Regions from separate parts of the Homo sapiens genome. Here region 2 is linked to region 1. The links are contacts of gene promoters, found by promoter capture Hi-C in blood cells and fetal thymus (Javierre and others, 2016). All regions are on one chromosome and are shown on one strand. The core of a region is centred on a gene start or on the middle of the fragment in contact, and the rest is flanking DNA. Distances in the headings are between cores, read along the strand shown. Region 1 holds the start of BEGAIN (brain enriched guanylate kinase associated). Region 2 overlaps LINC02320 (long intergenic non-protein coding RNA 2320).

The links. Contacts are between HindIII fragments. The CHiCAGO score rates a contact against its expected background, and 5 or more counts as called.
Region 2: a fragment that was not itself captured here is called in contact with the fragment with the promoter of BEGAIN in region 1 in 1 of 17 cell types (endothelial precursors); the score reaches 6.0 in endothelial precursors.

Annotation. Positions count from the first base shown.
Region 1 is chr14:100,583,989-100,590,226 of GRCh38, forward strand. It overlaps BEGAIN (brain enriched guanylate kinase associated), which reads right to left and starts at 3,429. Exons shown (of 7, transcript NM_001385089.1): 1 at 3,261-3,429. The coding sequence starts at 3,302. The HindIII fragment of the contact is 6,858 bases long and covers 728-6,238 here.
Region 2 is chr14:101,641,490-101,647,727 of GRCh38, forward strand. All of the region lies in intron 1 of LINC02320 (long intergenic non-protein coding RNA 2320), which reads right to left. Among named protein-coding and RNA genes, the nearest start is that of DIO3, 83 kb to the left of the region's middle. The HindIII fragment of the contact is 1,665 bases long and covers 2,561-4,225 here.

The DNA.
Region 1 (6,238 bases), core at 2,179-4,678:
GCGCCCAGCCTATCCCTCTAGGTTTCTACCCATCCATCCGCTGCTCTATCCTGCTAGTGCTTCCCTTCCATACAGTATCATCCACCCATGCATCCCCTTCAGCATGCCTGCGTTGCTTCTCCACCTCATGCACCTCTTAATCCCAGCATGCACCCACTGTGGGATGACCAGGCTTCCATGTCTGGCTTCCCCAGGCAAAGCCCAGGCCTGACCCATCTCCATCCCTGACTTGGGCTCAGGGCTTGCTGATTGAACCAATGACTGCAATTCCCCTGCTTGGCTCAGAGCTGGGCCCTGGCTGATCCCCACCCCAGGCAGACCACAGAGGCTGCTGTACTGTCCTCCAGACTCAAGGCCTGCTGAGGCAAGGGCCACTTTTGAGTTCCCTTCCTGGCTAGAGGGGAGAGAAGAGCCCCAGCAGCTCCTGACTCCTGCCGTACTGGCCAAGGTCCATGTCTCCCAGCAAACTGTGGACTCGTGGAGGGCAAGGTCTGTGTCAGACTCACCTAAGTGACCCCAATGAGCAGTGCAGAGTGGGTGCTTAGGTACAGCATGTTAGGTGAGTGTAGAATTCACACACTTAGTCATTCATCATTCATTCATTCATTCATTCCTATAATGATTAAAGCAATAGAGACACCTCTGGCCAGCTTCTCCCACCACAGGCTACAATCTGATGCCTGCTCTCAGGCCACAGAAGTCACTCCCCTGACTGTAATGGGTGTTAAGCTTCTGATACGGAGCCCTAGAGAGGAGACAGTGAGTCAGCGGCAGAGGAGGAACCAGAACCCAGGGCTGCAGACCTCCGTCCAGGCCTCTCCACTAAGGCTAGCGACCAGCTCTGCGGCAGGAAGGGGAGTCAGAAGAGAACCATGCGGGGTGATTCTAGACCAACACGGCGAGTCCTAGGGTCACCCACCCATCTGTCCCAGGGATCCTTACCTCCCTTAGGGGGAGGAGCCACACCTCCCCACCGCCATGGCTTCCACACTCCAGCAGGACACAGCCTCTCTAAGTCTTGAGACTTGAACACTCTACACTCTCCCCATCACCTTCAGGCCTTGGGCCAGGCTCCTGTAACACACCTTGACCCCTTCATCTGTTCAGCAACTACTCAGCCCTTGGACCCCACCTCCTGGGACCCTGGGTAATGATTTGTGGACTGTGTCCAATAGCCATGGACTCATGGGCTTCAGTCAATCCCTCCCATCCATCCATCCATCCATCCATCCATCCATCCATCCCTCCCTCCCTCCCTCCCTCCCATCCATCCATCCATCCATCCCATCCATCCATCCCTCCCATCCCTCCCATCCATCCCTCCTTCCCTCCCTCCCATCCATCCCTCCCTCCCTCCCTCCCATCCATCCATCCCTCCCTCCCTCCCTCCCATCCATCCATCCCTCCCATCCATCCCTCCCTCCCTCCCATCCATCCATCCATCCATCCATCCATCCATCCATCCATCCATTCATCCATCCATCCACTCTTCAGCATCAGGAGTGCCTGCAGGAGTAGGGAAGCTCCTTCAAAGTGTTGCCGTGGAGATGATGCGTGGAAATGCTGATCCAGGGCCCAGTACATAGCAGGCGTTCCATAAATGGCAGCTATGTGGGCCAGACCCTGCGCCCAAGTCTTGGGAGAGTGGATGGAAGATCTTCCAGATTGCTTAGGGCTCATTTCCTCTCTCCAGGCCTGGGCTCTGACAGGTGTCCCCCTACTCCACCCCAGCGCATGGAAAACTCATCCTCCAGGCTGAGGTTCTAGGCAGCCCTCCCCTCCCCACTCAGCTCCCAGGTGCGAACAGCTCCAGGTTTTGACGACAAACGGAACGCGGAGCCTTGGAATCTATAAATATGAGACAAAAGCTGGGGAGGGCCCTTGGCGGCAGCGCAGCCGCCCATCGCCCAGAGCCCGTGTGCTGAGCCCGGGCAGAGCCGCATCTGCCACAGTGCTTGCTTTTCCAAGCTGCCCTGATTATAGTGAGAGTCGGGAAAATTAAGGGTTTGCAGGATGCTGCTGGGGCCCTCTCTGCCGTCTCCCCGCCCTGCGTGTCACAGATGCCAGGCAGAGCCACCCCCAACGGCCAGTTGCCCCTGCTGGCAAGACCAAGGCCAGCCTGGCAGGGCTGCACACCGCAGTTTGTTAGGGGCTTCTGCCCACAGTCCTCGTGGGAGCCTGGCCCTGGGAGTAGTGGGGGTCTCTGCTGCTCTTGGCAGGCAGAGGAACTAGGGTCCAGAGAAGGAAAAGAACCTGTCCATGGCCTCCAGAGAGCCAGAGCACTGGGGCCTCCGACGGAGCCTGGCTGTGGAGACCCCGCCCCACCCATACCCCCAGGGCCTGGACCCCCAGTCTGCACTGGCGGCCGACCTTGGCCATGCGGACTTTGCACGTGCAGTGCTCCCTATCCATCCGGCCCCGCTCCCGGGTGCCCACTCTGCTCCCATTCTGCCGGCTCAGGAGACTCCAGCGCGTCGCCCACGCTGTTCCTGCCCTGAGGAAACCACATTGGGGATGGGGTGGGGCACAGACGAGGAAGGAAACACCTCTAAACCAAGCAGGAAGCGGAAACGCTGGGGCAGAAATTCCCATCCAACGTGCTGGGGCTCAGGGAGGGTGAGCGCGCCGGCTGAGCCGCTCTGGGCGAGGCCCTGGCCTCCCTGAGCCTCAGTTTCCTCGCCTGTAAAGGGGCAGGAGGATAGTACCTGCCGCGAGGTACTGAATGGGATGGTGGTGTCCGAGGTTCGTGCGCGCCCACGCGCTGCAAACGCTCAATGAGGCGGCCCCGGGTCCAGCCTCCTTCCGGCTCCCGGGCCTTTCTCCGGCCTCCCAAGCAGGGGCTGGCCCTGCCCCCAGACGCAGGCGGGTCCAGGCCTGCCCGCACCCTCGCCACCCGCCCGGGACAGCGGCGGGTCCCCAGTCCTCCGGCCGCGCCCTTGGTCACCCGTCCCTCCTTTCCTTCCGCCGCAGGGGCGCGCGTGTCAGGGCGCAAGGACCCCGCGATAGGACCCGGGCGCTCCCGGCGGCGCGCGGAGGCTGGGCATCCCCGCCCCACCCGAGAGTGCCCAGTTCCCAGGAGACCCGGCCCGGCTCCTCCCGGGCCAGTGAAGCCTCCACGGCGGGGGCGCAGCGCGGAGGGGAGCGGGGCGGGGGGCCGGCCACCTCCCGCGCTGAGCAGGGACCGCCCCAGGCGTGGGTGGCGCCCGCCCCGCCTCCGCGCCCGCGCCCGCGCCCTGCCCTCCCGGCTCGCAGGTACTCACCGCCCGGCGCAGCCGGCCCGGCCGGCGACCGCCAGTCCACATGGCCCCAGGGCAGCCGCGCCGCTCACCGCCGCCGCCGCTACCGCCGCCCCCTCCCCTCCGAGGCCGAGCGCGCCGGGAGCCGGCGCGGCCGGGGCTCCCCCACCCCGCCCGGCTTCCCGCAGGGAGCGCCCGCCCCCCGCCCCCAGCCCGGCTCCCCGCCAGCCCCGGCCCCGCGCAGCCGCGGCTGAGCCCGCGCGTCCTCCCGGCAGCGCCCGGCCGGGGCGCAAGTGGTGGGCGCAGGGCCGGGCAGGGGCGCGGGGGTGCGGCGTGCGCGGGGGCCAGGCGAGGAATGGCAGAGGGGCAGGGAATGAATGAACCCGCGCCAGCTTGAATGGCTGAGCGCGTGAATGAATGAGTGCGGTAGAGCATGCGGGGCTGGGGGGGCGGGGGGAATGAATAAATGAGAGAACTAATGCACGGGCGCGAAGGTGAGTGACAGAGTGAATGGGCCCTTGAAACCCAGAGGCTGTCAGTAATGACCTGCCCAACCTTTTCATCGGTCCATCCATTCAATCCCTCAACATTTATTAGACACCTAGTGTGTACCAACCAGCCCTGCTGTAGGCCCCAGGGGGTACAGTAGCGAGTGAAACCAAGCTCCTGCCCTCGCAGAGTCACATTTTACAGATGAGGAAACCCTGGCTCCCAAGGGTGCCTCCTGGCCAAGCTGCCCCTTACCCTGCCCTTGCTCTGCCCGAGCCCCCAGTCGGTGGCTTCCAGGGCTTGCCTTCTCCCCAAGGAGCTCTCAGGAAGGGAAGGTGGCTTCAGGAGGACCAGTGTTGCCCCCTGCCTATCCCTCCAGTCTGAAGCATCCCACCGACCTGCCCGGTAGAGCCCAGGCTGGCCAGTCCTACCCTGGTAAAGGTGCAGCGTGAACCCTCCTCTCTCCTCCCAGAGCGGGCAAGGGGCAGCCCTGAGGGTGCCAGCTACATGAGGGTCTTCCATCCCAGCCAGCCCAGCAGCAGCCAGCGTGGGAACCCGGGGAGGAGCACTGGCAGCCAGGGAGGGTCCTGCGTGGTGGAAACAGAGCTGGCAAAGCCCGTGTGCTTCGCTCATATCCTCCCTCGGGACCTATGGGCTCATGGTTCACACATGCTTATATCATTTCCAAGTACATGGCAGATTAGAAGATGCTGCGAATGAGTACCTTGTATATTTTTGTTTTTTAATTGTGGAAAACATGGAAAACATAAAATTTACCATTTTAACCACTTTTAAAGTGTACAGTTTGGGGACACTGAGTTCCCACTGTTGAGCTGCCATCACCACCATCCTTATATGCTGTATGTTGTATGCTTTGCAGTTTCTACGCTCTCTCATTTAATCTGGGGAGTAGGTTGCTACATTCAGGCAGTGTCAGTGCTGAGAAAAGGCACTGATAGCAAGGCAAGAGGGGAAACCCAGAAAAAAAGGAGACAAGCAAAAGAACCAGCAGCTGACTGGAGCCACTTCGTGTCAAGCAAAGTCCTGTCTCTGCTCCCTCTCAGGTCCCAGGGACATGATTGGGTAACCAATGGACAGAGGGAGGCGCCTCCAAGTGCACCCCACCACAGTCAAGACAAAATGAGAGGCGGCAGCTCAGGGCGGGGCTCTCCCAGTTTGGGCGAAGCGTGGACAGACTTCGCCCAAACCGTCGCTGGTGTGCACCACGGGACCAGCCTCTTTGCTCAAGGGGGCCTTAGTCTCCCCAGCAGGAGTAGGGACAGGCTCCCTGACCTCCACTCTGGCCTCTCAGGTTCAGACACCATTCAGGCAGCACACAGCAGTGGAGGCATCCTGTGAGAGGTAGTGAGGCCCAGCCTGCCAGCTCCAGTGTCCCTTCCCTCCCCAGTCCCTAAGGGGACAAACACCAATGGGGGATGTGGAACCTGGGGTACAGGCAGGGCTCTGCCCACATTGCCTCCTCCTGGGCTGCGGCCCTTCCCCAGAGGCTGGTCCTGCTCAGATGGTGCCAGAATGTTCACCGCCCGCCCTGGCACTGCTGCTGCCAACGCCACAGATGGCTGGGGAGGCGGGGGAGGGGCGGGTGGGGTGGGGGCGGCTCCTGCTTCAGCTCCAGCAGCTTGCAGGCTTCAGCTCAGGCCTGCCTGGGAAGGCCCCAGGAGAGCCCCTCCCCCATGCTGCACGCACCTCCCGTCCCCACCCTCCCTGCCCTCTCTTCTATCCTTCCCACTCCAGCCCCCTTAAGCTAGGAAGGCGGAGAGAAAGCAGGCATTGGTTGTGGGTCTGGGAGCATCCCTGCAATGCCCCTGTAGGGGAAGTGGTACTAGCCCCTTTTTGCAGATGGGGAAACTACAGTCAGTGCAGCAGAGCCTGGGGCATCAGGCAGGCTTCCTGGAGGAGGCAAGGTTTCAGCCGGGTTGGGAAGAAGGGATGAAAGTGGCAGGACTTCGAGGTGATGCCCTGGGGCCATGGAGGACCCTCTCCTCAGGCCCCTGCCCTCATTCAGACCTCTACGGACCACTCTGTTTGACATCACCATCCCCATGGCTCAATCTCGTTGCCCTATTTTGTTTTTTGCGTGTCTCTTACTGCGTTCCAGAGCTATCTGATCTGTCTGTTGATGTGGACATCAATCTCCCCGCTGGGATGCGTGGTCCTCTACTGTGGTCAGGGAGCAGGGCAGGAAGTGGCACCACACTGGGGCTCATGGTTAAATGTGCCAAAGAATGCATGGATGGATGGAGGTGGGGGAGATAGGAATAGCCTGGTGTGATGCCAGGCTTCTGGCCCTGGTGGCTGAGTATAAAAGAAAGGACAGCACGTCAGGGAAGTCATTGACAGTGAGGCACCCGCAGACAGCCACATACAGGGGCTCCAGCATCAGCTAGCCATGCTGACCAGTTCCCTGCCTCATCTTCCAATCCCCACCCACAAGAACAGATTGAGCAAGGGTTCTGACTATGAGCCCTAGAGAATGGGAAGGTGAGAGGTAT
Region 2 (6,238 bases), core at 2,143-4,642, 1.1 Mb after region 1:
CTAACTTTCCAATTCAAAAAAATTAGAAAGTTAACAAAGTAAACCAAAAGAATGTGCAATAGGGAAATAACAGAGATAAAAGTAGCAGGAAGGTAAAATGATACAGCCAATTTGGGAAAACAGTCTGGCAGTTCCTCAAAAAGTTAAACAAAAAAAAAAAAAATTACCATATGACCCAACAATTCTGCTCCTAGGAATATACCCCAAAGAAATGAAAGCATATGTCCACACAGAAACTTGTACATGAATTATTCATGATGCCCAAAAGATAGAAACAACCCAAATGTCCTTCAATGGATGATGGATAAACAAAATGTGGTCTATCCATACAAGGGAACATCACTCAGCCATAAAAAGGAACAAAGTGCTGATACCTGCTACAACTTGGATGTACCTCAAGAATGTTAAGTGAAAGTAGCCAGACACACAAGGTCACATATTGCCTGGTTTCTTTTATGTGATATATGCAGATTAGACAAATCCACGGAAACAGAAAGCAGCTTTTCTAGGAAAGTACAATTTACCGAAATTGATCCCAGTAAAGATAAGAAGTTGAAGCCATCTAGTTCCAGAAAAGAAATAGAGAAAATTGTAAATATATGTAAAAAGAAATAGAATAAAACAGAAGCCAACAAAATTGGTTAACTATAAGAGTAGACACCTTAAATACAAATTTGTAAATGCTCACCTCCACTCATAGTAAGGGAAAGGAAAGAAAATGAGACTTCTCTGTACCTTTTTTAACTATTTTGACTTTTAAATCATGTTAATATATTATACATTTATAAAATAAAATTAAATAAGATTTGGGGGAACACACTGAAATCAACAGAAACAAGCGGAGATAACTGTATATCAGTTTGATATCATGACCGCATAGAAGAAAATGATAATAACTACAAACACTTTTTGAACACATCGATCTGTTTGTGTAGAAGAAGAACTTAAAGAAATCCTGGACTTTATTGAAAAATTTGCTGTTGGTAGTGGATTTGGGGCTGCAGTCCCTAAACTATTTTCTGTTCATTGTAAGATTGAGCAAAAAGTAAATATATGGATGTTATTGAAAAGCAGGGTTCTTTTGGAGAGAAGGGGGATTCAAAAATGAAACGGGAGGAGGGGAAGAACTTCAAGATGTTGGAATGACATTAGAAGTACTGGTATGAAATAATTTTTGAGTATTTACTTTTTATCTGTCTCCACTAAACTGTCCTAGAAGCTGTTTAATAGGCCTGGGGCAAGGGAAGTAAAAAATATTTGTGCCAGAAAGTAAGGAAGCACTCAAAACTGCTAGAGACATGTCAAAAGTTTTCAAGAACACTTGAAGAGGCTATCGTCTGGAAAATTTGTAAAAATGTTATCCTCAATGTACTATAATGCATTAAATTTTAAAAAGAAATTCTGAAGGGCAGTGGGATTCTGACTCTAGCCATGACAGAATGACTTGTAGAGCTAATCCTCTTACTGACAACAACTGCAAAAGATAGTTAAAACGGCCGGGCGCGGTGCCTCACGCCTGTAATCCCAGCACTTTGGGAGGCCAAGTTAGGCGGATCACGAGGTCAGGAGATCGAGACCATCCTGGCTAACACGGTGATACCCCGTCTCTACTAAAAATATAAAAAATTAGCCGGGAGTGTTGGTGGGCGCCTGTAGTCCCAGCTACTCGGGAGGCTGAGGCAGGAGAACGGCGTGAACCCGGGAGGCGGAGCTTGCAGTGAGCCGAGTAGAGATCGCGCTGCTGCACTCCAGCCTGGGGGACAGAGCGAGACTCTGTCTCAAAAAAAAAAAAAAAAAAGATACGTAAAACATATAAGACAATTATATGAAGGCATTAGAGACCAGCCAAGGCCAACAGAACTTGAAGGGTTATGAACACTGAGAGAAGGTAAGTACATGACATACATTTCACAAATATCCTCACATTTTCCATAAGGGCATTTTCTACTTCCCAATTCAGAAAAACAAAGTCCAAGAAGAAAGCAGAAGTCTTTGCAAGTTTAGGAGACAGAAGTTGGAGTTTAGAGCTGCCTAACCATCTGGGACTTAGGGGATAAAATTCTGAGGTGGTGGGAACCATGAGGAAGTAAGCATAAAACTCTCTGTACAATTCAAATTAGAGTTTTATAACTAGAGTGTTAAACGTAATCACCACAGTAACCACAAATAAAATAGCTAAATAATATACCAAAAAAATGGAAATGAGAAAGAAGTTTAAGTGTGTCGTCAAGACGAAAAAGAAACGAAGGTAATAAGGGACAAAAGAGCTACGAGGCTTAGAGAAAACAAATAGCAAATAACAAAATGACGGAAATAAGTTCTTCCTTCTTGGAAACTACTTTAAATGTAAATGGATTAAACTCTCCAATCAAAAGTGATTGGCAGAGTGGATTTAAAAAGCACGATCCAACTATATGCTGTCCACAAAAGGCTCACTTTCCATCCAAAGACAGAAATAGGCTGAAAGTGAAGAATGTAAAGATATTCCATGAAAATAATAACCAAAAGAGACCAGTAATAGCTATACTAATATCAGACAAAATAGATTTTAAATCAAAAAAGCTTATAAGAGACAGAAAAAGACTTATATATTAGTAAACCATTCCATACAGAAAGATGACATAAACAGTTATAAACATTTTCACAACTGGTATATAAAGCATCAAATATGTAGAGCAAAAACTGACAAAACTGAAGAAAGAAATAGATCTATAACAATAGTTGGACAATTCAATATCCCATTTTTAATAATGGATAGAACAATCAGACGGAAGATAAGTAAGGAAATATAGGACTTGAACAACACAATAAACCAATTAAATCTAATAGACATGTACAGAACACTGTGCCCAATAACAGTATACACATTCTTCTCAAGTGTTCACGAGATATGTTCCAGGATAAAATATATGTTAGACTACAAATTATGCCTTAATTAATTTTAAAAGATAAATATAATACAAAGTGTCTTCTCTGACCACAACAGAATGAAGTTAGTAATCAGTCACAAAAGGAAAACTGGAAATTTCAAAAATTTGTGGAAATTGAACAACACACTCTTAAACAGCCAATGGATCAAAGGAAAATAACAAGAGAAGTTAGAAAATACTTAGAGATGAATGAAAACAGAAACAAAACACACCAAAACGTATGTAACACAGCAAAATCAGTCCTAACAGAGAAATTTATACCTATAAATCTTCCTTTAAAAATTAAGAAAGATCTCATATCAACAACCTAAATTTACAACTTAAGGAACTAGAAAAATGAAAACAAACTAAGCCCAAAGCTAGCAGAATGAGGAAAATAATAAAGATTTAAAAATTTTTAAAGAAAAATAATAAAGAAAATCAACAAAACCAAAAGTTAGCTCCTCAAAAAGATCAACAAAATTGACAATTCTTTAGCTAGATAGACAAAAAAAAAAAGGAGGGAGAGCAAGAGCACTCAAATTATTGAAGTCAGAAATAATTTCTAAATTACTGGGAGTATTACTACAAATTCTACAGAAATAAATAGGATTGTAAGAGAGCACTATGAATAATTGTACATCAACAAGTTAGATAACCTAGATGATATAGACAAATGTCTAGAAACCCAAAACCTGACAAGACTAAAATGTGAGAAAATGGAAAATCTGAATAAACGTATAACTGGAAAGGAGATTTAAGCAGTAATTTAAAATCTTCTGACAAAGAAAAACTCTGGACATGATGGCTTCCTAAGTGAATTCTAAAAAACATTTAAAGATGAACAAATACCAATTCTTCTCAAACATTACTAAAAAATTGAAGAGAACACTCCCAAACTTATTCTATGAGGCCATCATATGCTGATATCAAAGCCAGACAAAGATACCACAAGAAAACTACAGACCAAGATTCCTTAGAAAATTATGCAAATTTCCTCAACAAAATACTAGCAAACTGAATTCAGCAACATATTAAAAGAATTATACAGCATAACCAAGTTGTATTTATTCCTGAAATGCAAAGACATTTCAACATATAAAAATCAATCAATATAATACACCACACTAACTAAAAGGGGGAAAAAAAGACACGGTCATCCTAACTGATATAGAAAAAGCCTTGTATAAAACTGAACACATTTTCATGTTAAAAACACTCAACAAGTCAGAAATTGAAGGAAATTGCCTTAATGTAATAAAATCCATATATGAAAAACCCACAGTAAACATCAAATTCAGTAGTGAAGGACTGAAAGCTTTTCCTCTAAGATCAGGAGTAAGGTAAGGATGCTACTGTTACCACTTCTATTCAACATAGTACTGGAAGTCCTAACTAGAACAACTGGGCAAGAAAAAAAGGAATCCAAATTGGAAATAAAGAGGCAAAATTATCCCTGTTCACAGATGAATTGTATGTAGAAAACTCTAAAGATTCCACCAAGAAAAATATCTATTATAGCACTAATAACAAATTCAGCAAAGTAACAGGATACAGGGTCAACAAGCAAAAATTAGGGCATTTCTGTACACTGTCATTGAACAATCCAAAAAGGAAATTAAGAAAATAATTTCATTAATGGCATCAAAAAGAGTAAAATTCTTAAGAATTAACTTAACCAAAGGATAAAAGATATGTACAATGAAAACTATAAAATATTGCTGAAAGGAATTAAAGAAGACATAAATAAGTGGAAAAACATCCCATGTTCATGGATTGGAAGGCTTAATGTTGTCAGGATGTCAGTACTACTCAAAATAATCTACAGATTCAAGGCAATCCTGATCAAAATCCCATTAATGTTTTTGCAGAAATAGAAAAAGTCATCCTACAATTTATGTGGAAGTTCAAGGGATCCCTAATAGCCAAAGCAATCCTGAAAGGAAAAAAAAGAACAACAAAGATGGAGGAATAACACTTCTTGATTTCAAAATTTGATACAAAGCTATAGTAATCAGAACAGAGTGGTACTGACATAAAGACAGACATGTAGACCAATGGAATAGAACAAAGAGTCCAAAAGCTTTGCATATATGGTCAAATTATTTTCTACAAGGATGCCAAGACCACTCAATGGGGTAAAGGCAGTCTTTTCAACAAGTGATGCTAGGAGAACTAGATACACACATGCAAAAGAATGAAGTTGAACCCTTACCTGAAACCACATACAAAAATTAACTCAAAATGGATTAAAGCCCTAAACATAAGACCTAAAATTATGAAACTCCTAGAAAAAACATAGGGCAAAATCTTCATAACATTGGATTTGGCAGTAATTTTTTGGATGTCATACCAAAAGTACAGGCAACAAAAGAAAAAAATAGAAAAAATTGACTTTATGAAAATTGAAAAATTTTATGCATCAAAAGACATAATCAACAGAGTAAAAAGAAAATCTACATTACAGAGAAAATACACAAAACTCTTTAAACTCAACACCAAAAAACAAACAACCTGATTCAAAATTGAGCAAGGATTTGAATAGACATTTCTCTAAGAAGTCCACAAATGGCCAATAAGCACAGGGAAAGATGTTCAGCATCACTAATCATTAGAGAAATGCAAGTCAAAGACCTCACACCCATTAGGATGGCTATTTAAAAAAAAAAAAAAAAAAAAAAAAACAGAAAATAAAAGTGTTGACAAGGATATAGAGTGATTAGAGCCTTTGTACACTGTTGGTGGGAATGCAAAATTATATAGCCACTGTGGAAAATAATATAGCTGTCCCTCAAAACATTAATAATAGAATTACCATTTGATCCAGCAATTCCACTTCTGGGTATATACCCAAAATAATTGGAAGTAGGTTCTCACAGAGATATTTTTACAGCCATACAAATAGTACCATTATTCACAATAGCTAAAACATGGTAGCAACTCAAGTGTTCATTGATTAATGAATGAATGAATGAATGAATGAATGAGCAAAATGCATTTTATATATTACTGGAATATTGTTTGACTTTTTAAAGAAAATAAATTCTGACATACGCCACAGCATGGATGAAGCTTGAGTGCATTGTACTAAGTGAAATAAACCAATCACACAAAGCCAGTCACAGACCATACCTTAGGAGTAAGGGGAAACTGAAATAGGCCAAACCTAACAGAGCTTAAAACTAATGCTCAGCAAGATCAAGGTGGCCTGTTACTCTGCATGCCAGAAGAAAAAGTTAGCTCTCTCAGGAGGAAAATAACGTTGTCCATAGTCTCTTCATATTTACACTTATAAGGGCTGACATCCAAACAAAAATTATGAAGCATGC